Linked DNA regions of Homo sapiens: regions 1, 2, 3, 4, 5 and 7 are each linked to region 6. Evidence: promoter capture Hi-C in 16 types of primary human blood cells and fetal thymus (Javierre and others, 2016). All regions are on one chromosome and are shown on one strand. The core of a region is centred on a gene start or on the middle of the fragment in contact, and the rest is flanking DNA. Distances in the headings are between cores, read along the strand shown.

Region 1 (3,726 bases), core at 979-3,478, 2.6 Mb before region 6:
TTCAGGGCATGTCCCCCCTTCCCCTTTTCTCCTGGCTGGCAGGAATATGGATGTAATCACTGGTGTGGAAGCAGCCGTCTTGGACCAAGAACATAGCCCAGGAACAGGCCAGAAGGAGTTGGGCCCCTGATGTGAACCTCCATATGGAATGCTTGTATCCAGACTTAACCTGAGAGAGAACAAACGTCTATCATGTTTAAGCCACAGTTGTTTTATATTTTCTGTCTCTTGCAGCCAAACTTTTACATTGTAAATACAAATAGTGTCAAATGTTCCTTTAAAGAGAATGCCTATAGAGAGCCTGAGTGCCTGTTACCTATTACAAACTCTTAGTGTTATCCAAATGTTAAATTTTTGTCAGATTTGTAAGAGAAAATTGTAATTCCTTATATACCAATAAATACTAATTCCTTGTATGCTCATAAATAAGCAGAAGGAGGCTGGGCATGATAGCTCATGCCTGTAATCCCAGGTCTTTGGGAGGCCGAGGTGGGTGGATCACCTGAGGTCAGGAGTTTGAGACCAGCCTGGCCAACATGGTGAAACCTTGTCTCTACTAAAAACACAAAATTAGCTGGGCGTGGTGGTGCATGCCTCTAATCCCAGCTACTTGGGAGGCTGAGGAAGGAGAATCACTTGAACCCAGGAGGCGGAGTTTGCAGTGAACCAAGATTGCGCCAATGCACTCCAGCTTGGGCAACAAGAACGAAATTCCATCTCAAAAAAAGTAATTAATTAAATAAAATAAAATAAATAAAAATAAAAAATAGGCAGAAGGATAAGATGAGAAAGGGTGGGAAAGGAAAGAAGAGGGCAGATTTTCATAAAGTTTAGTTAGGTATGTCCTTGACTATGACAAATAATTGAGTTACTTGTTTTCTGTCATGAGAGACTGGGGCAATCTGGCTAAATATGACAATTTAATGCACCCTCTGATTTGAAGATTTTTTTTTTGAATTAAAAAGTAGAACAGAATCTTCTCTGCAGGTAGTTTATAAACTCATTACATTTTATATTTATGGTGTAACATTCTCCTTTTCTTATGCTCACAATCTGTTATGGAGCCTAACACTGCCAGGCCCAAACAAGAATATATTGATTGATTTCTTTTTACCTCCAGAATTCAGTGTTGGCAATAAATTTGAGGACATTTTCTTGCCTGGCCCTGTTGAAAGAAAAAAAAATACGTTTTTTAAAAATTCTATGAACATCATATAAAAGGGCTAAATTCAACTGCCAATGACTCCTTAACAGTCCTTATGGCTTTTAAAAGCAGTGAGCACACACATACTCTTTGACCCAGCAATTTCAATTCTGGTATCTTATGTCAAGAAAATAATCAGACAAGCAGCCAAAAAAGCATGTGCAATAATGTTTGTTCAATGTCATTTCATAAATACAGAGTTGACCAAATAACTATGGTATATCCATAAAATAAATTCCAGTTGGCCCTTAAAATGATGCTGTAGTCACTATTTACCTCTCTCCATGGTATTGGTTAAAAAACAAAACATTTCAAAAGAGTAGGGATAGTGTGGATTAAAAAATGCATGCAAAAATCTGAGAGGTGTTTGAAATGCCATTCATCAAACATGAATCTTGATTACATGTGATTTGGTGCAGTCTCTCATTTTTACCAGGTTTGGGATTAGGGTTAGGTGATTGAGGCACTCAATCTTAGCTGCAAAGCTTAAGGATTGCCAAAATAAACAAACAAAAACAAAACAAAAAAATCAACTTTCAGTTATTATGATAAATTAAATGTTAATGCAATATATTTTTATAAAATTCCAAATAAATGCAGGAAATTCTATAATGAACAAAATATCAAAATTGTAAATACGGACAGTCTCTGACCCTGTACTTGTGTGACCCTGAGAGCCAGTGCCTCACTCTACTCACCCAAATCCTGGCCCACAGAACTTGTCTCTATTTAAAATTCTGTTATTTCATTTATCATGAATTTTTTACATTAATTTATATATTTAAAATAGTGAATTAAAATATTGCTTATTTTGATTACTGAGTTTTTGCTTTCCCCTTAAATTTTATGCATGAAGCTAGAGCTTCACTGGCCTTACCCTAATCCTTGTTCTGATTTCTATACTTTGAGTATCATTCAAATTTCTCAGTGAGCTGGTGTAACTGTTACAATGAGAAAAATAATAAAGATATATTCATTTTGGGGATAAAGGACACCCAGGAGTTTATATTTAAAAATGTGCCCGCAGCAGAAACAATGGACAACACATTCTATTTTGGGCTACTCATTTAAATATGTGCCTCAGGAATCTCAAAGAGCCATATATAAGAGCTAAATATCCCGGAAGCAGAGCAGCAGATGATTAAGAACACAGACTTTGGACAAGCCTGATTTTTGAATCTTGGTTTGGTATTTACTTATGTGTGAGCAAGTTCATGTATCATTCAAAAAACATTTATTGAGTACCTACTATGTGTCAGGCACTGTTCTACGTGTGGGGGACAGGGCAATTTTTAAAAAGACAAAAAAGAACAAAAACTATTGTCTTCATGGAGCCTACATCTTAATTACTCAGCATCTCTGAGCCTCTGCTTCCTGTTTCATAAAGTGGACACACCTCTTAAGGCTTTCTTGAGGATTCAGTGGGCAATGGATTTAACCAAGTGGGGTGCCTGGCTTACAGACCAGCTCAGTAAGTGGGAACTATTATGTGCTAATATTTACTAATTAGCATCTGATTTTAGTTCCAGTGGTTATAAAAACAAATATTTAAAAAATTATGTCAAAGCTTATAAAAGAGAAAAAAATGAATAAAAACTATAACATTGACATTATACTTTTTCAAATGACTGAACATTTTTTCACAGGCATTAAATTCATTCTCACGGGGGAAAAGAAAGATCGGTGAAAAATTGGTGACAACCTGTGGTTGATGAGTATTTGGAATTTGGATGGCTAATACTAAAGATTTGTAGATTTTCTCAATTTTACACTCTGTACTCATCTCCACTCTTAGGATTCTGATCACCTCTTTCTTGTCACATTTTCACTCCTTTGGTCCTTCTATCTATCTAAATTCACTCTCCTTCCCACTCTCATTCCCTTTATCCTTAAAGTCTTTTTGCAATGAGCATCTTTATCCATGGGTTCAAGGACTTTTTCACTCACAGAAAAACTGGAAGTTCTGTTCCTTTAAACCAATTGCTAAGAGCAGATATCTGCTCTTATTCTGTCTCTATTATATAGTTCATATAACATGTAAATGCAATCAGCAGTCTCCAGATGTTGTTATACTTCTATACTTCCATATGCATGAATTCCTGTATTGATGAATGAAAGGTTGGTGAACAAAAGGGAGGGAGAGGAACAGAACCAGTTATTGTTAGGAAGGGATTATAAAGTCCCCTTTCCAATCAGAAAAAATGTTGAAGTCAGTGGATGTCTTTGTTGTGCGAAATAAAAATAGCATGATGGCTAAACAAAGGCTCTGTACCAAAAGAGAGGGAAAATGTTATTGGATTGCATAGCAAATGCCTGAAAGTTCACATCTTAAATACACGTTCACATCCAACTTCCAATAGATGAAAAAGATCAAAAGCTCAGAAATATCAGGAATGTAAAATGGTGGTGTATAACTGCCAGCCATCCATTTTAGAGGTCGCATAAGCTAAATGATTAAGAACATAGACTCTCTCTATGTCCCTTAATCCTCACACTTCAATTTCCCCATCTTTCAAGAGGAA
Region 2 (4,172 bases), core at 1,673-4,172, 3.0 Mb before region 6:
CTTTTCTACTCTCATGTATGACTAACTACTTCCCAAACATCTTTTGTTAAGATGTTTTTAACAAATCTTATTGTGAATGTTTAATTTTTAAAACTCTTCATAATTGGGATATAAACGATTTTCATAAGAAATGGGCATTCATATTTTACAGGAACACATATACATTCTAACTCTATTAAAGAAAGAAGAAATATAAGTACCACTGGGCATAAAATAGAACACATTTAAAAATAAAAGTGTCACAGTAACCATCTCATTAAAAACAAAAACGAAAAAAAAAAAACTTGAAATCTCCCAGAGGGAGAATATGTTGACTATTTTAATGAAGATAATTTTTGTAACAAAACATTTTTCTTTAAACAGTAACAAACCAAACAGATCCTCTACAGGCTATTAAAAGTTGTATGATTTGTTATTTTCCATAATAAAAGATAGGAGGAAATGGTAATTTCGGTAGGAAGTAGGCCTTAGGAATTACTAACCACCACAATGCATTTGGATAAGAATGAAAACAACTTTATCCATAGTTTGCAGTAATTAGGGTAAATCTTACCCACTCGTATAAGCAATTTTCCATTTTCCATTTACTTCACGGAACCACCATAGTATTCTGTCCTCTTAAGAAATGTTTGTGAAACGCCAAGGGTCAAGCACAGTGCTTGGTTCACAGAAAGGGGTTCAATATTTTTGAATGAACAAATTACTGAGCGAATGAACACAATGGGCTCTCAAACCCTCCCCTACTCCCTCTTAGGTATGCTATTATGTCCATTATGTGCTTTGGCACCTCTCCATGTCAATCATGATGTATTTCCTTTCCTTTATCCCTAGAAAGGCCCTGGTTATTCTTTCTTCCTTTAGAGATCTAGAATCTATAATTACCCTGATCTTGCTTGGAACTCCTCATTAAACAATAAAGGACACCCTTTTCCCTTGGGCCTTCCTCATGTCTCTAACATGCCTCTCCTGAAGCAGAGATTGAATCTAGTTGAACACGTTGTAAGATAAAGCTCCTGAAAGCAGTTTCTGCCTCCGGGTTATTTGAATTTCTCACCCCCATCCCTACTTAACAAGTAATTTTGTTCCAAAACATTTATCATCAGTGTCACATCAACAAATTTACACATCAATCTACCGCAGCTAACTTCGTAACAATGGGAGAAACATTCAGAATAATACTGAGCATCCTACCAAGGGTCTGAAAAATTGAATTCAAATACTCTGTGTGTAAAATGCCTAGACTCTGTCATTCCAGCACATCTATGATCTGATCTAGCAAGTATATCGTTAGACTACAAATTACCTTTTTCCTATGACGTGTAAAACTCCATTAAAAATGAATTCTTCCTAATAAAGTTTTTTATGGCGTCTAAAATTGCTGTGAATGTTACACCTTTTACAATCACCTTTTAGCCAGAAAGCCATTATTTGTAGAATCCTCCTGTATTTCAGTTATTTGTCACCTATTTAGGCTGGGCCTAATAGCAAAACTGTCCCCCGTTACTGAATTCAGAGAATTATTCGGGCACACGATTTATTTCCTATCTTGATTAGACTCCTGAGCCCGTGCCCCAGCCTCTCGCTAATCTCCCTGGACCAGACAACTCCATTAGAATCTGGCACCCACGTTTGTTCTGCCTAACACTGCAGGAAGGACAGAGACTTCAAAGCACGTGTTTGTTTTTTTGTTTTGTTTTTGGCTACCAAGAAGCCAAATTTCTGTATCCTCTACCATTCAAAACCCCAATTCAACAAATTTACACGGGGGTTTTTCCTCCACGTTAAGCAGTTAGTCGGGTACTAGAGATACACATATAAAACACAGACTCTGCCCTCAAACAACCCAATGAGCAGAAAATTCTCTTAGGCACCAAAACGCTGTAATAGATTCAAGTGTGTAGAGGAGAAGTTTGGTAGAGTGGATATGACGCTTTCTTTCTTTGTAGTACAGAAAAGATAAATCTGTAGAAAAGGGAGAAAGACAACTGGGTAGAAAATTTATTTCAAATATCTAACCCAAATCTTCAACAGATTTTCCATTTTAAATATTCCAAAAAGTGTACCATTGTATATTATACTAAATGCAGGTTCATTTATCACTTAAAAATTTTTAAGCTAAAAAATCTCAAACAATTAACATTTGGGAAGAAAAACAGGACTGATACACAAAGTAGTCAAAATATTTCAGCTTTCTAAACTGTATGCACTGGACTAACTGTTCAATATTAGAATATCTCTACATTTGAATTTGGATAGCCCACAGTGATAAATACTGGACTGAAAAATCTGACATCGAACATATGCAAAACTAATGGCTACTATGAAAAAAGATAGAATGGGGAGAGAAAACTTGAATGTGCCAAAACATTTAAACGCTCTTTAAAATATCCTGAGATGCTAAATTAAGGACAAAACGATTAGAGTTCCAAGAATACAAATTTTCATCTCTTTCAAGATTCAACTGAATATTGAATCTCATTGAGATTATGAAATATTCTCTAAGCATGTGCTTAACTTCTATTTGGCTTTCCGCATTTCACCACAGTGAACAGCCCATTCTTTTTCCTTGTTTACACCAAATGCTCGTTTTGAACACAACTCAAAATGGAATTCCAGGCCCAAAAGTCACCACCCCTACTTTCACCCCCACAGGCAGCTACTTAACAGATAAGGAATTCAAGTGCAGGACCTGAAGGTCTTATTTCCATGCAAATTTCACAATCCCCGTTACTTGCCCAGATACAACAATTAAAGCTTAAAAGGTGGCGGGAGTGGGGGACTTGAGGACTGGTCTGAGGAGAAAGTGAATCTCCCAAGGGTTCCTAAATGGTTTTGCTTCCAGTATAAAAACTGCGAGCTACCAGTAGAATTTAACAACAGCTCAACCTTGCATTTGGAACAGTTACTATATAGTTCACTTTCTTTTTTCATGGGGGCGGGGTATGGTGTCTTACCTACTCTTAAATTTGAACGTATTAACAGGTTCCCCTCCGCGCACACTGACATATTTCTTATCCCCCATAATGAATTCAGCCATATGGCATTCTTTCCCATCGAAGGCCATCGGGAATGGCTTTAGGAAGCTGATTTTCAAGCTTTAAGCGGCAGCAGGTGCCGGCAGCGCGGGGACCGATCGATGGAGAGAAGGCGGGCAAGACGCCGGGAAGCGCATTCCTCCTCAACCGAGTGCCACAACCGCCCTCCCGAAGTGCCCCGGGGCTTCGAGCATCACCTCGCGGTAATCCGGGAGGGTGGAGGGATGCGGCTGGACCCGGGCGTTGCGTGCTCCACACAGCGCCCAGCCCGTGCCAGCCCCGCGCCCACCTCTCCACGACGCTCGTGCCGGGATCAGCGCGAAGCCCCTTCCAGTCCCCGAAGCCCTCGCCCGCGCCCGTTCTCCCCCAGCTCGCCCCCTCCAGCCCGCTGCGCCTTGCCGCAGCATCTCCGGGCACTCTGAGGCTGCCGCCGGGACAGGGTCGGAGCGCCGCAGAACCCACCGAAACTTCCCAGGGGGGCAATTCAAAATTCGCCGGACGCGTCGCCGCCGCGCGCCCCTCGGCTCATTCCCTTCCGCGCGCCCGCAGCCCCAGGCTCTCCCTCTCTCAGGACCCCCCAGCGCCCTGCGCGGCGAGAATAGGCCCCCAGGTGCCTCCCGGCCCCGGGGGCTGCCGTCGCACGTCCGCTCCCGCAGGGGTCCTCACTCCGCCAATCGCCGCGGCCGCGCGCCCTCGCGCACACTCACCAGCCCGAGCCGGGGCGGCCATCTTAGCGCTCACCCCGGCCCCCCGCCCCCCGGTTCGGCGGCCGCGACGACCCGGTGCGGCGGCTACGACAGCCGTGACGCGCAGCAGGCCCCGCCCCCTCCCACAGCCCCACCCCTGCGCCGGCTCTTCGCGGGCACCGAGAACCTGCCGGTGGCCGCCTTCCGCGCCTCGTGGGGGGGTCGGGGCCACGGACGGTCCCCGGCGCCGCAAGTGGGTCTGCGCGAACAACAAGCACTGCCTCCCCGGGCGGGCTTCGCACCTGTAGTGCCGTCGGGACACGGGAGGGTAAACCCAGCGTGTCCTGTGTGCCTGTGAGCCGCAGAATCATCCACGGACGTCGTTAGTCCTTCCTGGAATTTCTGCGATTTACACAACGTCGAATTGTTTGGCAGAAACGCGTGGCAAACT
Region 3 (4,120 bases), core at 1,328-3,827, 2.7 Mb before region 6:
AAAGTTAGCCGGGCGCAGTGGCGGGCGCCTGTAGTCCCAGCTACTCGGGAGGCTGATGCAGGAGAATGCTCTACTGTTCAGTATATTCCATTCTTTTGAGTAAGAAGGGTGGACACCCTGATTCCACCCCCCTTTTTTTTGGCATATATATATATATGTTTGAATTGGTGCAAATTTTTAAAGTCCAAGTCTCTCAAGTCAGTTATTCATTAATTTATTCATTCCAGAAATTTGCCATTATGTGCCAGGGAACTAATTATGTGCTAGTAAATGACTAGTAATAGCAACAAAGGGTTAATGAATAAAATACCTTTTTCTCTAAAAGAGAGTGTAGTTAGTGCTAAAACAGGTGGGGTAGAGCCCATGTGACAGAACAATTAGTTACCTAGGGAAGTCAGAGAAAGCTTCAGATATGAAGTGCCCATTTGAGTGGGGCCATGGAGATTAGATGAGGAGGCATTTTTCAGGCAAAGCAAATGGGGAGGGATTTCTAGGTGGTAAGAACGTCCTGTGTAAGTACGTGGAGTTGTGAGAAAAAGCATGGCCGGCGGTGCAAGGGCCAGCTTTGCGGTTCATGGGACAGAAGGGAAAGAGATGAAGGAGTTTGTTTTAGGCTGCTAGTCATGGGTAACCAACAAAGGTTACCCATATCCAACTAAAATGTCCAGGTCTTCGGTTTGTTTTGAAGGAAAGGAGGTCAGATACCTCTGGCAACAGGGTAATAGATGAGGAAGTAGAATAAGCTTTATTTTTTAAAATTGGATTCAATGGAGACATTTGAGGGGTGAAGGAGGTGGGGGGAGACTGTATGGCACAGGATACTATGGGGAAAATTCCATGAGGTTTTGTTTTGTTTCCTTTAGTGTTTTGAGAACAGTGAAGTCCTATTTGTACTGATTAACTTTGAAGTGCTTATGTGGCAAACAGAACTCTTATTCCAAATTCACCACTGCCACCCGCTGGAACCATGGCAAAAAACAGAAAAGTGTTTAAAGTCAGTATTGAACACTGATCATCTACTTGAGTGGTTTCCAGCCATTTCATCCACAGACTTCTTTTATTATCTACTCGCCCCCACAGATTGAATCTATGATTTACAAAACTCAAAGACATTACTTATTTAAAATTTGTTTCCCATTTTAATAATCAGATACATAAATAAATGCCAGTCAGAGCTTCTGACCCATGATGATCCACCAGTATTCGTATTTTAAGGTGACTTCATTCCAAGCAAAAGCAAAGACACATGAGGTCTTAGTCTATAGTGTCTTTATTAAAATAAATGTACAATTTGTTGGTTATTTTTCTTTGTTTTTGAAAATAGTTTGCAAAGCCACAACACTACCTGCAAACTGATCCAGGTTCAGGGGCCTGTGGGGCCATTGATCTCCAGTGGTCCTCAACCAGGGGCAACTGTGCTCCCCAGGGGACATTTGGCAATGCCTGGAGACATTTTTGGTTGTCAAACCTGGGTGGGGGAGGGACTACTGGCATTTAATGGGTAGAGGCCAAGGATGCTGCTAAGCAACCTATTATGCACAGGACAAGTCACAAAATAAGAATTATTTGTGGCTGGTTGCGGTGGGTCACTCCTGTAATCCCAGCACTTTGGGAAGCCGAGGCAGGCAGATTGCTTGAGCTCAGGAGTTCAAGACCAGCCTGGACAACATGGCGAAAACCTGTCTCTACCAAAAATACAAACAATTAGCTGGGCATGGTGGTGCACACCTGTGGTTCCAGCTACTTGGGAGGCAGAGATGGGGGGATCACTAGAGCCCGGGAGGTGGAGGTTGCAGTGAGCCAAGATTGAGCCATTGCATTTCAGCCTAGGTGAGAGAGAGACCCCGTCTCAAAAAAACGGGGTCTCAAAAAAAGAAAAAAAGAAAAATAAAGAAAAAAGAATTATTTGGTCCAAAATGTCAATAATATCAAGGTTGAAAACTCTGATCTAGCCCAATCCCTACAGTGTATAAAGGAAGAAAATAAGATCCAAGACAATTAAATGACTTTTTCTTTTATTTTAGTAGGCAATACATTCAAAAGTTCCAAAAATAGAACATTAAAAGGGTATGTAGGATTTGAACAGATATTTCTCCAAAGAAGATATACAAATGGCCAATGAGCAAATGAAAAGATTCTCAGCATCATTAGTCATTAGGAAAATGCAAATCAAAACCACAATGAGATACTGCTTTATAGCCACTAGCATGGCTATAATTAAAACAACAACAAAAACGGAAAATAACAAATTGTTGGTGAGAACGTGGAGAAATTGGAACCTTCATACATTGCCGGTGGGAATATAAAATGGCGCAGCTGCTGTGGAAAAGTTTGGCAGTTCCTCAAAAAAAGTTCTGTGTAAAATTATGATATGACCCAGCAATTCCACACCCCTAGGTATATGTCCAAAGAAATTGAAAACAGGTATTCAAACAAATACTTGTACACAAATGCTCATAGCAGCAAAATTCACAGTAGCCAAAAGGTGGAAACAACCCAAATGTCCATTAACAGGTGCAGGGATAAACAAAATGTGGTATATACATACAGTGGAATCATACTCATACATTAAAAGGAATGAAGTACTACTACTACAACAAGCTACAATGTGGGTGAAGCTCAGAGACATTACACTTAGTGAAAGCCAGATATAAAAGGTCACATGTTGTTTCTATTTATATGAAATATCCAAAACAGGTAAATTTATAGAGATAGAAAGCAGACTGAGGGTTGCCATGGGCTAGGAGAGAAGGAAGATAGGGAGGAACTGCTTAATGACTACAGAGTTTTCTTTTAAAGTTGTGAAAATGGGCTGGGCACAGTGGCTCATGCCTGAAATCCCAGCACTCTGGGAGGCCGAGGCAGGCAGATCACTTGGGGTCGGGAGTTCAAGACCAGCCTGGCCAACATGGTGAAACCCCGTCTGTACTAAAAATACAAAAATTAGCTGGGTGTAGTGGCATGTGCCTATAATCCCAGCTACTCAGGAGGCTGAACCAGGAGAATCGCTTGAACCCAGGAGACGGAGGTTAGCAGTGAGCCGAGGCTGCACCACTGCACTCCAAACTGGGTGACAGGGCGAGACTCCATCCCAAAACAAACAAACAAATAAATGAACTTGCAAAAATGTTTTGGAATTATATAGAGGTGGTGGTTGCAATAACATTGTGAATGTACTATATGCCACTCAATTGTATACTTTGAAATGGTTAATATGTGAATTTCATAATTAAAAGTTTTTAAAAAATGCATAGTGAAACATCTCATCATTGTCTGCCCTCAGTGTAGTTCCCACTACACCCATAGGCAACCCGTGTTCTTAGTATCTTAGGAGCCCTCCAGTATACTTATGCACATACACAGAAATGGATAGCTTGTTATCCCCTTCTTTCTCTTTTTATACAGAGGCAGCATATTTTGCAAATTATTCGGTGCCTTGTCTTTCTCAGCAATTTATCATGGAGATCTTTCTGTGGCCTTGACACTCTTGAACATTGCAGGCCACTTTGTTCCTCAATGTGGTTTGTCTGATATTTCCTGATTACTAGATTCAGGTTATGTGGCTTTGGTAAGAATATCACAGAATGCATCTTTTCTTTGCATCTTATCATGTGGCACCTGATTTTGATTTTCCAGTTGCTAACGATAGTTGTTTGATCACTGGATTGTAATAAGATGGTGTCTACCAGTTACTATAGTGAAGAAGACTGAAAATAGCCAATGTTCGAAGGGATCCTGATTCCTTTAGTGGGAAGCAGTTTCTAGAAACTAAAACCTGAGCATTAAGTATGCTCATTATTATAGGTTGATTCCTTTGATTAGTGCCCTTGTAACAAATTTCCCTTCCTGCCATTGTCCCCTCCCCTGCATTTCTTCTTCATTCCATTCAGGTTCTGACACCGTGTGCCAGGTCATTCTGCATGGACATCCTCCTTGCTTCCTTTAGGCTCTGACACTCCACAGCAGGCCACCCTCTTCCCCGCAGTGTGGACACCCTCTTAACCCCACTCAGGCTCCAACACTCCCTGTCAGGCCACCCTCTGGGGATGCTTCATCCTACTTGGGCTCCAATGGCTGGTGCTGGGCTGCCCCTCGCCATGCGTGATCACCATCCTCACCT
Region 4 (3,743 bases), core at 1,208-3,707, 2.6 Mb before region 6:
TTTTCAAATGTTTTGGAACTGGCCAAAAGATTTTTCTAGTGTTGATGTTTAATTTTCTAGCTCTTAGCTATAATCTTTTGCAGTGGCAACCTTTTGCAGTGGCCTTTGTTGCGGGAACTTAGTTTTGAATTTTAGTTGGGTCTGGCTGTTTTGTTATATTGATTTTCTGTACTAGCTTCAAAGCTCCAAATTCTGGTAATTATTTCCTTTGGAAAATCATAAAGATGTCATTTTATAACAACCATATGGTGGAAAATAAGTGCCATGTGCTTTTCAACAAATCTATGTGAAACTTTTTTTTAAAATGAATATATTTAAAAAATTTTTTTAAAGACAAGAATATTATAAATATAGTATTCAGTATTTTCATAATAAAAATATAGTAATTCATATCATACATGGTTTCTGGTTGGAACAACAAAATCGACTTTTTCTATTTACAGGTGTAATAATGTCCTTTATATCAGAGGTGTGGAAGAAGAGGAAGAAGATGGGGAAATGAGAGAATAGCATCTTTTGTGGGGGATTTTTTTTATATATATTTCTAGACAATAAAGATTTGTTTGTTTTTCAACTTGACTTGTGAACTATTTGTATTCAGATATTTACAAGCAAAGCTGAAATGATGAACCAATTGGGAAAGATTACTCACTGAACTAATGCTTTAAAAGCCACTGAATTTCATTTAAGTTGCTTTTCTTTTGTAAGCCCAATATTCTTTTTTTTCCCATAAAGGATAATTATTTATATGCTTTAGATATTTTTATGAAGGTGAATTTCAGACCTTTTCTTGTAAAATTATCTATTAGCTGAGACCTTTTAAATGCAACTTTTTCTTTTAAAGTTATTTTTGAGCTACTTTTAACGTATAAAATTAAACATTTTCTTGGTATTAATAATATACTGTCTTATTTTACTTAGTAGTCAATAAATTACATGTTAATTCTGTGTCAATATAAGCTAAATGCACATATTGCAGCTAAAATTGAAGCATCTTCTAAAAATTAAAATGATTGTACAGACAGGGCACAACAGAAATTGGGAACTGACATTCAGGCTGAAGGCATACGGTTTGTTCACTGAAGAGAAAAAAGTTCTCTGAACAAAATGTAATGTCAAATAAAAACCAGTCTCCCCATTATGTTCTGAGACATAACCTCGAGGTTGAGTTTTAAGCCCCTCAAAACCCTTCAGGTATTTTAGGGTTGTACATTGTTAAAATGTATAGTCCATAGTAATAACAGTATGCTATGAACTTCCCTACAGATGGGTTGAGAAAATACATCATTTACATTCTCATGTTGTAAGAGAATGGCCATTATTACACTTCAGTGTTCATTTACCATAGTTTTATCAGTAAACTATCTTTGTGTATCCCCAAGTGGGACAACTCAAAGTATAGAAGAAAGTGTTTAGCTATATGGAATAATACTTATGATATGAATACTTAAAGACTTAAAATTTACAAAATACACCTAAGACATTCTGGTAATAAAATGTCTTACTGCTTTTATTCAAGTAAAAAAATATTCTTCCTCTTGTGATTTTGTTTTTGTTTCATTGACTAAAGGTAGCTGCTGTTTGTTACCAGATGGAGGTTTTGAATGAAAGACAAGTCGTCTTCCCAACTGAAACAAAAGAAAAACAAAATACTTAATATTTTTTGAGCATAGCCATTTTCTATTGAAATTTGTGAAATACCAATATTAACTTGATTTTTACAAGGAATAATATGGTTTGTAACATTAACTAATCACAGTTAAAAGGGACTTATAACCTAACGGATGTCTAACATGCTAGGCAAAGTTGAGTAGCAAACTGGACACCAATAACTATGCAGAAGGAACAGCAGTTAGGTTTTATTGGGAAGTGGGAAAACTTAGGTAAAGTCATCAAATAGTATATGGTTCAAATGTGGTCAGCCTAGAAAAGCACCATGTTGAAGGCCACCATTTTATTTCTCAGTAAGTGCCATAGCCAGTTTTTCGTCCATGGTTGGAAGAGATGGCTTTCTCCTGTTGAGCACCTGACTAGCATTTAGAAATCTTGTTAAATAAAAAGTCCAGAAAACCATGTACCATCTTGAATACTGGTTGGCTTCTGGAGGTGTTCCCAACAGAAGAGGCTTTGGGAAACCCCGAGTTCATACCTATTCATTCTCTCTGGGTCATATATACTCAAATATATTACTACTTATTTTTCTCTTTACTTTTGGGATTCCCTCCTCCACTTTTTATTTTGTTTTGCTTTTATAGCTGAATTTGTATACATTAAATGTATAAGTGGGGAAACTACCATAATTCTATGAGATTTGATGGGACATTGCCACTGTGTTCAAAAGGCACTATTGACATTGTAGGACAATTCTTATGTGAGATTGTCCCCTGCATTGCAGGCCTGAGAGAACCTGAATAACAATAGCACTTTTCCCCATCATTGTAACAACAAAAATATCCTTGGGGGACTAGAATTTTTGAATTCCTTCTGCAATATCGGAATTTTTAACTGTCAAAGATCTTTGGTAACATTTGTTATTAATAGTGTCTGAGAAAATTAGCAATGATGAAGTGTCCTAACTGGGTCAGCTTCTATCAGAGGTCTTTGTGTGTTGTTGATTTATCAGATAACCATTTTTTCCCCCAATTTTTTCCAGTTTTAGTTTTTATGCTCATTTTTAGTCTGTTAATTCACTACACATCAAGTATCCATGATGTGCCAGGTATTAGGAATACAAACGTCATAAAACTCATGGTCTAGAAGGAAAGGTGAATATATTAAAAAATAATAATTTCAATTTGGTGGGTTTGCTAAGTAGTCCATGTGGAAGGGTGATGAATGGTTAATTCTTGGGAGGAGAGGACAGGTGAGGAAAGTCTTCATGGAAAGAATTGAACTAGATAAATACCTTTTTTAAGATGAAGTATTTATTTCAATAAAATATTTTGAAGTAATCGTTTTTTTGTCATGGCACATATTAATTCCCATACTTCAGAATTGTTTTCAAGTTCTTACCTCTTGAGGTTAGTTGTAAGGCACACAGTAAGCATTCGTTATGTGTTAGCTATCACTGTGGTAAGAATCAGCATCCGCAATAGCTTTGCAGATAACCATGAAATTGTCTTTCTGGAACATATTTCAGATGCTATCCCAGAGGAGGGAAAGAGTGTCATATAGAAACAAACTCCTTACCCTGTGTAGAATTGATGGACCACATGTACCTGACTACCTAATCCCAAACTTCTGATTGGACAGGTAGTCTTGCAAAATAAAGAACTTTGGCTTCTGGTCCTGATTGTGCTGCTAAGTCAAAGTGACTCTGGGCAAATCATCTTAACTCCAACTGTCAATCTCATTGTCTTTACAATGTGGGGATTATACACAGTCCCCACAGTTACATGCGATTCTCTGGGTTCACATCTCCAAAACATTACTGAGTGAAAGAAGCCAAGTTCCTAGTTATCATTAGTAAGAAAAAGAATATGTACATAAATACATATTTGTGTATGTATATTTCCAGAGGGATGCAAATGAACCTGTTAACAGTGGTTGCCTTCAGGAAGGGGAACTGAGGAAGACTGACTTTATACTGAATACTCTTGTATCTTTTGAACTTTGAACAATATGCTTTTAATCTATTCCAAAAAACAAGAAAAAAATTATCTGATTTTAATGAACCTAGGTCTAAAAAGAGGAGAGAAGAGGCTTCTTTTACTAAAATGTGTGTCTAATTGAGAACTGGAGAG
Region 5 (3,683 bases), core at 400-2,899, 2.8 Mb after region 6:
ATTACCTCCTCAATCCATGCATATTTCACTTCCTTTCTTCCAACTAGACTGTACTTAGCAAGGTCACCAGTGACCTTCACCTTGTCAGATCCAGCAACCACTTCTCTATCCTCGAATTTGCAGTATAGTTGGCCACCAGCTCTGCTTCCATGCCATAACTAGTCTGTTTCTACCTTACTGGCTCTCTTTCCCAGTCGCAAATGCCTCACACTTGAGGTATTTAGGTGTATTTAAGTCACGTCTGCAGCCCAGACTGCTACAGTGAGCTCTGTACAACAATATATCCAATTGTCTACTTAACATCACTCCTTGACTAAAATGTAAGCATCTCAGACCAAGTATTTCCAGTCTGGGCATGGTGGCTCACCCCTGTAATCCCAGCACTTTGGGAGGCCAAGCCAAGAGGACTGCTTGAGTCCAGAAGTTTGATACCAGCCTGGGCAATATAGCAAGATCCCATCTCTACAAATAATAATAATAATAATAATAATAATAATAATAATAATAAAAGAGCTGGGTGTGGTGGTGCATGCCTGTAGCCCTAGCTACTTGGGAGGCTGAGGTGGGAGGCTCACTTTAGCCCAGGAATTGAAGGCTGTGAATATTTTCAAATAATTAATTAATACTATTATTGCCTTTCTCGTTTGGCTCCCAGAACAGTACCTGGTCCACAGAGGACTCTCAAGAAATAGTTGCTGAATGAATGAATGAATGTAAAATGGGGTAAATAATTATATTTTTAAATTATTTTTTAAAATTGTACATATATGTATATATAACTGTACAATTTAACAACATGCTATGTGTAGACATTAAAGTGATGGGAAAAACACCAAACATTAACAGCGGTTGTGCATGAAATTAAAAGATTTTTCTTAAAACTCCTTCTCTATTTTTCAATTTTATTTACAGCGTAGTGGTTAAGAATACCAAAATTTAGAGTCTGAGTGAAGACTGCCAGTTACCAGCTGCACAACCTTGGTTTCCTCTTGTGTCAAATTGGCTTAAAAATATACACAGTACCGGCCAGGCGCGGTGGCTCACACCTGTAATCCCAGCACTTTGGAAAACCGAGGCGGGCGGATTGCCTGAGCTCAGGAGTTCGCGACCAGCCTGGGCAACAAGGTGAAACCCCGTCTCTACTAAAATACAAAAGAATTAGCCGGGCGTGGCGGCGGGTGCCTGTAGTCCCAGCTACTTTGGACGCTGAGGCAGGAGAACTGCTTGAACCCGGGAGGCGGAGATTGTAGTGAGCCGAGATCGCGCCACTGCCCTCCAGCCTGGGAGACAGAGTGAGACTCCGTCTCAAAAAAAAAAAAAAAAAAGTATATATCTATATATAGATATATAGATAGACGCAGTACCTCCTTTGTATTAACATCCCTAATAAGCTTTACTGTGAAATTATGGATGAAAGGATCTTTGCACGATGCAGGTACGTAGTGAGGGACAGTAATGTTAGTTGATAACGATTACAGGTATGTTTTATTTTATAATGAAAATACATTTGTCTTCTAAACCTTTACCGAAGGGAGTGAAAAGAACACCTCACCCAAACGCCCGCCCTTATGTGCGCAGCCCCGCCTCCTGTAGGCCCCACCCCACCAAAGGGTGCGCCTGCGCCGTTCTTTTTTCCGTCCACGTGACCCACTCAGGCTCCTCCTTGTCTCCAACATGGCGGCGCCCAGGGGCTCAAGCCGCACGTGAGAAAGTCTGGGCATCTGGGAATCGGAGAGTATAGCCTGTGAGCCGCTTTCCCCTCCTTACTGTCGGTTGCATCCCTTCGACACTCCCGAGGCCGTCGCGGGCCACTGGCCCTCTGCAGCCATGAAGACAAAGCCCGTTTCCCACAAGACCGAGAACACCTACCGGGTGAGCGCGGGAGCTTAGGCAGGGAGCCGCGGGTCTCCGCTGCCTCAGTCGTGAGACAGGCTCTGAGCGAGACTCCAGGGGCCTCAGACTTCTGGGCCGAGTGTGTCACTTTCCTGGAGGCTCCGGCGAAAGAGGGAGACACTGGATGTAGTAAACATGGGTTGGAGGAGGAAAGAAGTGTGGACAGCAAGTTTCACCCATGTTTTATGGGGTCTGGCCAGTCCTGGGAATTTCCTGTAGTCCAGAATTAAATTCACTATTCCAGGAGATTGCTTAGGACCAATTCTCCCCTGCTCTTTTATCTTTAAAGACCGAATTGGGCGAGTCGGCTGGCGGTGAGTGATTCCCAGCTAAGGGCAAATATACAGCGCTTTCTCTGTTTGCCCCTTGATAGATTGTTTCCAGGTCTTCCTTAGGATACAATCATAGGTCTGTATATGTTTAAAAACACTTTTATTGCAGCGACTTTGCTAGGTCCCCATGCTTATGGGAGGGTATGAAACCTAATAGATCTAGCGAGACTAATTGCCAGCATCCACCTAGGCTCACCAGTCTGGCAATGGAAATTTTATTTGAAATGACATAGCTGAGAGAAATTATGCAAACATAGAAGTATTCATTATCTTTGAACAGTGATGCAGTAAATTTGTTTACGGCCGTATGTTTTTCAGTTTATTTTTCCACTTATCCTTTGTGATTAGAGATGCCTACATGCAGCATTCAAATAGATATTAAAGATCTGATAAATTTTAATTAATTATGTATCTTAAATATACTTTCCCTTCCAGTTTCTTACATTTGCTGAACGACTGGGGAATGTTAATATTGATATTATTCACCGGATTGATAGAACTGCAAGCTATGAGGAGGTAAGAGAATGTGATACTAGTCAATCTTCAAGTGTTCATGGTGTTTTAGTTTCTTCTGTTAGTAGAAGTGAATTGTTTTTCAAGGTATTCCTTTTTGGACATGAAATGCTTTAGACCTGTGCTGTTTCATACAGTAGCCACATATGACAAATTGGATTTAAAGTAAATTAAAAATTTGGGTGCCCAAATGTGGCTAGTTGCTAACATATTGAATAAATATAGAATTGGAACATTTTCATCTTTGCAGAAAGTTCTGTTGGGTGAAGCTCTATTAGACAATTGACTTGACTTTCAGCTGTCTTTGTGATTCTAGCCTCTCCCTTTCCCTTATGCATTCCAAGCACTGCTGCAGATCCATATTCCTGAAGCTATAACTTTAAAGTGATTTTGAGGAAGCCCTTTTCCCGGGGCTTAATTTTCTCCTTTATAAAAATAAAGGGGCTAGACTACATAATATTTTCCAGTTTTAACCATACTCTGACTCTGTCATCCCTTTATTTTACTTTTATTTATTTATTCATTTTTTTGAGATGGAGTCTCGCTCCGTCTCCAGGTTGGAGTGCAGTGGCGTGATCTTGGCTCACTGCAATCTCCACCTCCCAGGTTTAAGCGATTCTCCTGCCTCAGCCTCCCGAGTAGCTGGGATTACAGGTACGTGCCACCACACCCAGCTAATTTTTGCATTTTTAGTAGAGACGGGGTTTTGACATGTTGGCCAGGATGGTCTCAATCTCCTGACCTCGTGATCTGCTCGCCTTGGCCTCCGAAAGTGCTGGGATTACAGGTGTGAGCCACCACGCCCGGCCTTGTCATCCTTTTATGCAGAAGTCTTTTTCTGCATCATGTCGTTATTCCTCCTAGCATTTTAAGGTCGTACGTAACATGCCTATACCTTGGCGATCCAATCTCAGTTCGTAATATTCTTCTTTACTATAATCAGAC
Region 6 (3,661 bases), core at 469-2,968:
GACCACCCAAACTCAATAGCCCAACCTCTTAGCCTTAGGGTACGCAGAATCTGAAAAGTGTAATCTCAATTTTGGAGCTCTACAGCAGTAAATCTGCAAGTAACCACCTGTAGCTAATGTCCAGGGATTAAAAAAAAGATAATGAAAATGTTTTTGCCCAGGAAACATTAATTTCAGGCGTATCTAGAATGCAGTTCTTGCATTATACGTACTGGGTTACCAGTCATTGCAAAGTCATGGTCCTTTGCCTCTCAGCTCAGTTCCCCTTCTGAAGATAAAAACATTTGCCTATGTGTCCAGGGAAGCTGTGAGGACAAAAAACCAAGCAACTTTTACAAGGGATCATAAAAACCTACCTAACAACTTGCTAATTAAAACCTGATTTTTAATTTGCATTATTGAGCTTAATACCATTGCTTAAATGTATGTGAATACTGAGATTTTTATAAAGGAATTAGTTACCTCTAGGAAAATAATTATCACTAAAAGAAATAATATCGCAATTTGAATAAAAGTAAGTCGCTTAAATCATAGGAAACATTTTTAGTGAAGGCGTTTGTTTTAAATGTATTCTAACCTAGCAATGTAGAAAGCAGGCAAACATTTAAAAAAAATTTAACCAGTTTCTAAAACATAGTTTGGAGCTCAGATTCTGGGGAAATGATTAACACACCCTACATCCAAGGTCTCCTTTCCTTTCTAGAAAGAAAGCATCTTTAAACATACATATTCATCAGAAATACAAATATTTGTCATCAGTGATACTAATTTCCAGGCAAACATTTTAATTGCAGTCAATGTATTAGATTCTACCAGGTTTTAATTTGGATCGGTAATACGGGTTTGATTAGGGTTCTAGGCCTAATTATAGGTCACTAGTCTTCCTTTAGGATTATGCACCATCTGTTATTTTAAATTGACCATTGAGGGGGTTCCCAAGGGTTCTCCTTCGTTTTGTTATCAAACGTTAGGTTTAGGATTCTTGCGGGTGGTGGGATCCAAAGCCAGAGACGGTTTCAACAAAAATGCAAGCGCGAATTTGTCTTGCGTCTGAACGCACTGTTCAAATTAAACAATTTAGACATGCCCCAACTATGACACTAAGAAGTGAATGGTATAGTACACTTTTGTCACAAATTCAAGGGTAATTTAAGTGCCCGATTGTAGAGGTCTGGCTTCCCCTGGGTTTCTGGAACAAAAGAAGCGTTCGCGAGGAGAGGGGTAACTCCCCGCCCTCCCCCTCCCAAAGTAAATCAAATCAAGGAATATGAGTGCCTGCAGACAAGCCTCGCTTCTTTTCTTCCCCTTCAGGGCTAGCGTTTGGGGAAGGCAAGGCTGCGGCTACTCTTGGAGCTTCAGTGTCCCGGGAGGAAGAAAGGCCCAGCCAAGGGTCCTCACACTGGCGTGGAATTCGGCGCGTTCGTAGGCGATCGACCCCAGAGACGAAAGCTGCTTCTCAAGCTGGGGGAGGGAGAGGAAACGGCGCACAAAAGCAGTACGACCTGTCCCTTATCGGCGTCTAAGGGGAAGGGTGGAGAAAACGAAAACAGAAGCGGGCCGGGAGCCTCGGCTCCCGCCCCAGCGCCTTTTAAACTGCGTTTCTACCTCCTCTCGCTCAGCGCGGCGGCTAATGGAACCCGCGCGAGCCGTCTCGCCAATCACCGCCGCGCTTCCTCCCGTCGCCCGCCAATGGCGGCGCGCGTTCTTGGGGCGTGGGCGAAGCAGGCTGCTCGCCTCCTGCCTGTAGTGTGTGGGCTGGGGTTGGTGCGAGCTTCCAGCTTGGCCGCAGTTGGTTCGTAGTTCGGCTCTGGGGTCTTTTGTGTCCGGGTCTGGCTTGGCTTTGTGTCCGCGAGTTTTTGTTCCGCTCCGCAGCGCTCTTCCCGGGCAGGAGCCGTGAGGCTCGGAGGCGGCAGCGCGGTCCCCGGCCAGGAGCAAGCGCGCCGGCGTGAGCGGCGGCGGCAAAGGCTGTGGGGAGGGGGCTTCGCAGATCCCCGAGATGCCGGAGTTCCTGGAAGACCCCTCGGTCCTGACAAAAGACAAGTTGAAGAGTGAGTTGGTCGCCAACAATGTGACGCTGCCGGCCGGGGAGCAGCGCAAAGACGTGTACGTCCAGCTCTACCTGCAGCACCTCACGGCTCGCAACCGGCCGCCGCTCCCCGCCGGCACCAACAGCAAGGGGCCCCCGGACTTCTCCAGTGACGAAGAGCGCGAGCCCACCCCGGTCCTCGGCTCTGGGGCCGCCGCCGCGGGCCGGAGCCGAGCAGCCGTCGGCAGGGTAAGGACGCGGGGCCGGGGCTACAAAGGCGGGCGTTTGGCGGTTGCCGCGCGCGCTCGCCGCCGTTTGCAGCCCCTCCCTCCCGGGCGCCCCCTCGGGCCTCCCAGGTGCGGGGCTGTCCCTGCGCCCCCTCGCGTCGCCCCTTCCCCGCGGGGCTGCAGGCGCCGGAGCGGAGAGGCCAGAAGTTGGGGCCGCGGGGTTCGCGTTCTTTGACGTGTGGGTCTGGGAGGTGTGGAGTTGCGTTGGCGGCGGTTGTTTTGCACGCAGTCGACGCCGCTTCCCTGGACCACCAGCCGCCTGCAGCGGGCGTTTAGACGGGGACTTCCGTGCCCTTTCGAAAGCTCTGGAGGGGTGGCCCCAAAATGCTATAGGTTAAGTTCGAGCGTTTTCCCGCTTTATTAACTGAAATGACTCGCAGCAGAGTCTCAGAGCGCTCCCTGGAGGGCAACTGATGACACTCTAATTTCTAACCAAAATTTGAAATGAGGAAATTCCCGCCTTTTTATACTTTTGCGTGTGGAGGGCTTTTTGAACCGTTTATGTTTTCTAGTTTGTTTTAATTTTTCCCAGCAACAGGCCATCTTTTGGCGGAACAGGTTCATGCCGAATTAAAAGGAGCATTTTAAACTATATTTTTAGGCGCCTATTATAATTTTTTAGTTTTTATTTATTTATTTTTTTAGATGGAGTGTCGCACTTGTTGCCCAGGCTGGAGTGCAATGGCGAGATCTCGGCTCACCGCAACCTCCACCTCCCGGGTTCAAGCGATTCTCCTGCCTCAGCCTCCCGAGTAGCTGGGATTACAGGCATGCGCCGCCACGCCCGGCTGATTTGTGTATTTTTTAGTAGAGACGGGGTTTCTCCAAGTTGGTCAGGCTGGTCTCGAACTCCTGACCTCAGGTGGTCCTCCCGCCTCGGCCTCACAAAGTGCTGGGATAACAGGCGTGAGCCACCGGGCCCGGCCCTGCAAACAAATATTTGAAAATTGCAGTTTGGATTGCGTTTTCCCCACATATTGGTAAATTTTGCTTGAGGAAACGAAAGACTTAGGATTCAGGAAAAATTTATTTCATGACATTCTGGTGCATCAGTATTGCAATTTGGAATGTCTGATCCTGGTTAAATCTCAAATCGGCTCCAGCAAAGCATGTTTTGTTTCAGAATAGTTTGCTTTTTTACCTGTGGATTTTAATATGCTTTTTGTGGGTTTGCTTATGCCTGCCGAGTTACCAGGCTTCAAATCGTAATAGGATGAAGCTAAAACTAGTAATTGGTGTAACATAAAATGCCTTGTAAGAGACAGTGAATGTGGTGTTTGGAGTTGTTGGGAATGATCACTAGTTTAAACCGAAATTATTCCTTCCTTCAAATTTTACTTTAGTTTTT
Region 7 (3,901 bases), core at 747-3,246, 2.9 Mb after region 6:
GAAAGAAATAGTTATGTTGGATGGAGACCAGAAAGTCCCTACAATTAGCTCATCATACCAACACTTACTAGGTATAGTAGTAACAACTTCTCCCACTTGTAATCTGTACAAAATTGTGGTTTTTCCTGCTCCATCTAATCCCAAAATTAAAATTCTCATTTCCCGAGTTCCAAACAGACTGGAAAATATACTTGAGAAAAAGCCACCTAAAAAATAATAAAAGAAAAAACATACACAATGTCATTTTGTGAACTAGGTATACAAAACATCTAACCTTGTCCTTTGAGAGCTAAATACCAAATTAAATATTATAATTTCCTGGATGCGTAGGTGCATATTTTTCCTCCCAATGAAATATATTATTCAATATCAAACAAGTAATTAGTTATGTTACTATGTCCTTAGTTATGTTACTATTGTGTCATGCAGGCACAGAAGATAAACCAAATAATAAGAGAAATATGGCCGCGGCCTTTGGGAATCTCATTTTCTAATCAGCAGAATAGGAATATTTTAGCATGATCCCCTCACTACCCCTAAAAACCAAGGGGCCAGTAAGGAGGATAGTGGGACAATGTAATCCTCGCACAGGAAAAGTACTGTACAGCAGCAGTACCACTATAACCAACTTCAATCAGAGTTCTCCACGAAGCAATATAGCTAGTACAAGAAATTGAGAAAAAAGCTGAAAACAATAACTATTTTTGACAAAAAACCCACTTTTAAAAATAATAAAGCTCTATCCAATGCATCACAAAATATTCCCAGAAAGCTTCCTGTACACCAAGTATTGTGTAGGATAAAAAGCACAGTCCTTTTCCCATCCAGAGCCATTAGAGAAGATTAAAAACAAGTTACATTAATACAAAAAAAAATAGTTAACATCAGAAGTGATGCCACACTGTTATTTGGCAAAGACATGGCATAACTAAGAGCTGCGAGTTGAAAAATGAACAACACCATGGGCTAGAGAACCTTGGGAAAGTTCAACAGAATAGGTGTGACTTGACAAAGTCCTTTCTACCATTTACAGGTAGAAGAGAGGCGGAACAAAACTGAAGGCGGTTATGGAAGACAGGACAGCGCCTGTGATGCTTGGGAGCAAGAAGTATGCTCCCCAGAAAACTGTGGAGGGATTTAACCAAGCCAAAGAATCTGCACCTTCATTTGGAGGGTGAGAAACGAGTTAAAGAATGTGCACCCTCACTTGGGTTCTAGCGGGGCGAGGGTGTTACCTGATGCTTGTGAGAATGCAGTTCCCTCAATCAGCGGGCCAAGAACCAAGAATAAAGTTTCATTTGCCGACTAGAAATACCCGTATTATTACATGAAACGCTACAGCAGATTAGCAGACAAATGCCAAACTGGCCATAAAACAACATAAGCAACACCTGCTCTCAGGTTTTTCAAACTGACGCCGTCCCAGCGCCCCTGGTAAAGAGAATGATTAAGCTTCCACTCTGGGGCCGCAGCTCATCTTTCACCAAGAAACCTCGGCGAACCTGCGACTGACGCGTTGCCAGCCTCCGCAAGAACAACTCTGCCCAGCAAGTGGAGCTGGGGATGAGGGAAAACTTCATGATAAGGGTAAAGAACTCGAACCCAGGCTCTGCGGACGTCCCCAAGCTGTCCGGGTCCCTGGACCCCGCAGGAATCAAGGGGAACCGAGAGAGGACGGAGGAGAACGCGAGAGGCCGGATCCACCCCTACAGATGAAGATCCAAAGTGAGTCAAGTCCTCCGCGACCCGCCCCCTGAGGAGCTGGCTACTCTAGGGTATCCTGGCCGGCCCCTCTCCTCCTCTGCACCCCAGCCCTCGGCCGCGGCTCCCTCGAGCGCGCCCAGGTGCCCTTCTCGAACCCCTCACCCATGATGAACCCCCTGTCCTCCCTCGCCGATCTTCAGTGATTCCTTGGCCTTCGGCTGCAGCTCCGAGGCGGTTTCCTCGCAAGCCCAGTCAGCCAGCAACTTCCACGTCGGACTCCAGGCGGGGGCGGGAGCGAGGGTCAGCTGCGACTGCGCGCCGGGAACGGTGGCCTGAGCATCCGCGTCGTCGCTTTCGACTCACGGTCCCCGCTCACTGGATGTAGATACCGTGGAGGCCAGAAGAGACGAATAATTCAAAAACCTGAAGTCTCTCCTGCTTGTGTTTTTCTGGACAGAAAGAGCTTCTGAAATAGAGAAATTGGAATTTTTGTTTTAAATTCTGACACCAAAAAGTGGCGAATCTGACAACTGAAAATGCGAGTCGGGCCTCGATGAGTCGTCCCGGTCGAACGCTGGCGCAGGCTGCGGCGTTGCAGAGGACGCGTGTCCCGGAGCGCCCTGCGGGGCCAGCCCAACTCTCCCTAGGTGCTTTCTCCCAGAAAGAAACAAGACTACGTAATAATAATAGGAATGGTACCGCGCTGCCAATGCGGAGCAGCCTTGCACCTGAGGCCAGTAACCAGAGGTTTTTGTCTTCGCTGTGGCCTGCAGGACGAGGACCTCGCCGGCTTTTTTTCTCGCTGACCGAGCAGCTGAGACCGCCTTTCAGGGGTCGGCAGTGTGGACTGGCTGGTCCCGATCGTGGGGACCAGGGACTTATTCCCTCGAGGGTCGACTGTTGGAAGTAATGTAGGTTTTGATAGTGAAGTGTGTGGAGAGGAAGAAGGAAGCACACCTATAGGATGTGGAGAAGGGATTTCCCCTAGAGAAATTTTTAAAGGTTGAGCATGTATGTTTTGAAACTTCCCAAAGATCCATTGAAAAGTGAACCTTCCGGCCGGGCGCGGTGGCTCACGCCTGTAATCCCAGCACTTTGGGAGGCCGAGGCGGGCGGATCACGAGGTCAGGAGATCGAGACCATCGTGGCTAACACGGTGAAACCCCGTCTCTACTAAAAATACAGAAAATTCACCAGGCGTGGTGGCGGGCGCCTGTAGTCCCAGCTACTCAGGAGGCTGAGGCAGGAGAATCACTTGAACTCAGGAGGCAGAAGTTGCAGTGAGTCGAGATCGTGCCACTGCACTCCAGCCTGGGCGACAGAGCGACACTCCGTCTCAAAAAAAAAAAGAGAAAAGTAAACCTTCCATCCCTAATACCCTGTATCTCGGTGATCCCCAGTAGTCACTACTGTTAATACTCTCTTAGGTTTTCTTCCAAATCTTATTAATACCTTTGCATATTATGTTTTTATTTATGGTAGAGATTTTCATCCATTCAACAGAAGCTTATGGACTGCCTTTTTAGTTTATTTTAAAAGAATTTTTCTAGCTTTAAATAAAAATTGTATATATTTACAGTGTACCATGTGATGTTTTCATAGTTGTATATGTTGTGAAATGATAACATACCCATCACCTCACATAGTCGTGTGTGCTTGTGTGTATATGTTTATTTTGTGCTAAGAATATTTAAGGTCGGCCAGGTGTCGTGGCTCAGGCCTGTAATCCCAGCTCTTTGGGAGGCCGAGGCGGGCAGATCCCTTGAGCCCAGGAGTTGGAGTCCAGCCTAGGCAACATAGTGAGACCCCATCTCTACAAAAAAATAAAAAAATTAGCCAGGCACAGTGGCACTTGTAGTCCCAGCTACTTGAGAGGCTGAGATGGGAGGATCACTTGAGCCTGGGAGGCAGAGGTTGCAGTGAGCCAAGATCCCGCCATTATTCTGCTCTCATTCTATGAGTTCCACTTTTTTTGACTCTACATATAAGTGGGATCATGAAGTATTTGTGTTTCTGTGCCTAGCTTATTTCCCTTAGCATAAATTCACCCATGTTGTCACAAATGACAGGATTTTCTTCTTTTTAAAGGCTGCATAGTATTCATTATATATATAAATATACATACATATACCACATTTTTACATTTCACGTTTTCTTTATCCATCAGTTCACTCTTAGGTGATTCCATACTTTGGCT

The links. Contacts are between HindIII fragments. The CHiCAGO score rates a contact against its expected background, and 5 or more counts as called.
Region 1: a contact is called between a fragment that was not itself captured here and the fragment with the promoter of TMPO in region 6, in 4 of 17 cell types (total CD8 T cells, total CD4 T cells, activated CD4 T cells and 1 more). The highest score is 12.6, in total CD8 T cells.
Region 2: a fragment that was not itself captured here is called in contact with the fragment with the promoter of TMPO in region 6 in 2 of 17 cell types (activated CD4 T cells and non-activated CD4 T cells); the score reaches 7.2 in activated CD4 T cells.
Region 3: a contact is called between a fragment that was not itself captured here and the fragment with the promoter of TMPO in region 6, in 2 of 17 cell types (naive CD4 T cells and non-activated CD4 T cells). The highest score is 6.6, in naive CD4 T cells.
Region 4: a contact is called between a fragment that was not itself captured here and the fragment with the promoter of TMPO in region 6, in 1 of 17 cell types (activated CD4 T cells). The highest score is 7.4, in activated CD4 T cells.
Region 5: a contact is called between the fragment with the promoter of UTP20 here and the fragment with the promoter of TMPO in region 6, in 5 of 17 cell types (total B cells, fetal thymus, non-activated CD4 T cells and 2 more). The highest score is 8.4, in total B cells.
Region 7: a contact is called between the fragment with the promoter of ARL1 here and the fragment with the promoter of TMPO in region 6, in 1 of 17 cell types (activated CD4 T cells). The highest score is 9.6, in activated CD4 T cells.

The regions. Positions count from the first base shown.
Region 1 is chr12:95,935,359-95,939,084 of GRCh38, forward strand. CCDC38 (coiled-coil domain containing 38) reads right to left here. Exons shown (of 16, transcript NM_182496.3): 2 at 1,115-1,165. The coding sequence starts at 1,151. Among named protein-coding and RNA genes, the nearest start is that of CCDC38, 5.4 kb to the right of the region's middle. The HindIII fragment of the contact is 1,082 bases long and covers 1,688-2,769 here.
Region 2 is chr12:95,545,029-95,549,200 of GRCh38, forward strand. The region is part of intron 1 of USP44 (ubiquitin specific peptidase 44); the gene reads right to left. Among named protein-coding and RNA genes, the nearest start is that of USP44, 4.4 kb to the right of the region's middle. The HindIII fragment of the contact is 341 bases long and covers 2,753-3,093 here.
Region 3 is chr12:95,848,275-95,852,394 of GRCh38, forward strand. All of the region lies in intron 1 of SNRPF-DT (SNRPF divergent transcript), which reads right to left. Among named protein-coding and RNA genes, the nearest start is that of SNRPF-DT, 8.5 kb to the right of the region's middle. RefSeq lists enhancers at 1,817-1,961, 2,740-2,884 and cis regulatory regions at 1,889, 2,812. The HindIII fragment of the contact is 3,673 bases long and covers 742-4,120 here.
Region 4 is chr12:95,865,562-95,869,304 of GRCh38, forward strand. CCDC38 (coiled-coil domain containing 38) reads right to left here. Exons shown (of 16, transcript NM_182496.3): 16 at 1,487-1,628. The coding sequence ends at 1,515. SNRPF (small nuclear ribonucleoprotein polypeptide F) reads left to right here. Exons shown (of 4, transcript NM_003095.5): 4 at 444-579. The coding sequence ends at 510. Among named protein-coding and RNA genes, the nearest start is that of SNRPF, 8.5 kb to the left of the region's middle. The HindIII fragment of the contact is 5,394 bases long and covers 1-3,743 here.
Region 5 is chr12:101,278,456-101,282,138 of GRCh38, forward strand. UTP20 (UTP20 small subunit processome component) reads left to right here and starts at 1,650. Exons shown (of 62, transcript NM_014503.3): 1 at 1,650-1,872; 2 at 2,661-2,741. The coding sequence starts at 1,828. RefSeq lists enhancers at 1,349-1,940, 1,674-1,723. The HindIII fragment of the contact is 7,469 bases long and covers 1,390-3,683 here.
Region 6 is chr12:98,513,872-98,517,532 of GRCh38, forward strand. TMPO (thymopoietin) reads left to right here and starts at 1,719. Exons shown (of 9, transcript NM_001032283.3): 1 at 1,719-2,275. The coding sequence starts at 1,997. TMPO-AS1 (TMPO antisense RNA 1) reads right to left here and starts at 2,355. Exons shown (of 2, transcript NR_027157.1): 1 at 2,120-2,355; 2 at 1-2,026. RefSeq lists enhancers at 1,339-1,418, 1,679-1,868 and a silencer at 2,209-2,478. The HindIII fragment of the contact is 4,246 bases long and covers 1-3,661 here.
Region 7 is chr12:101,405,776-101,409,676 of GRCh38, forward strand. ARL1 (ARF like GTPase 1) reads right to left here and starts at 1,997. Exons shown (of 6, transcript NM_001177.6): 1 at 1,867-1,997; 2 at 69-206. The coding sequence starts at 1,870. RefSeq lists enhancers at 1,480-1,529, 1,610-1,659. The HindIII fragment of the contact is 1,758 bases long and covers 1,451-3,208 here.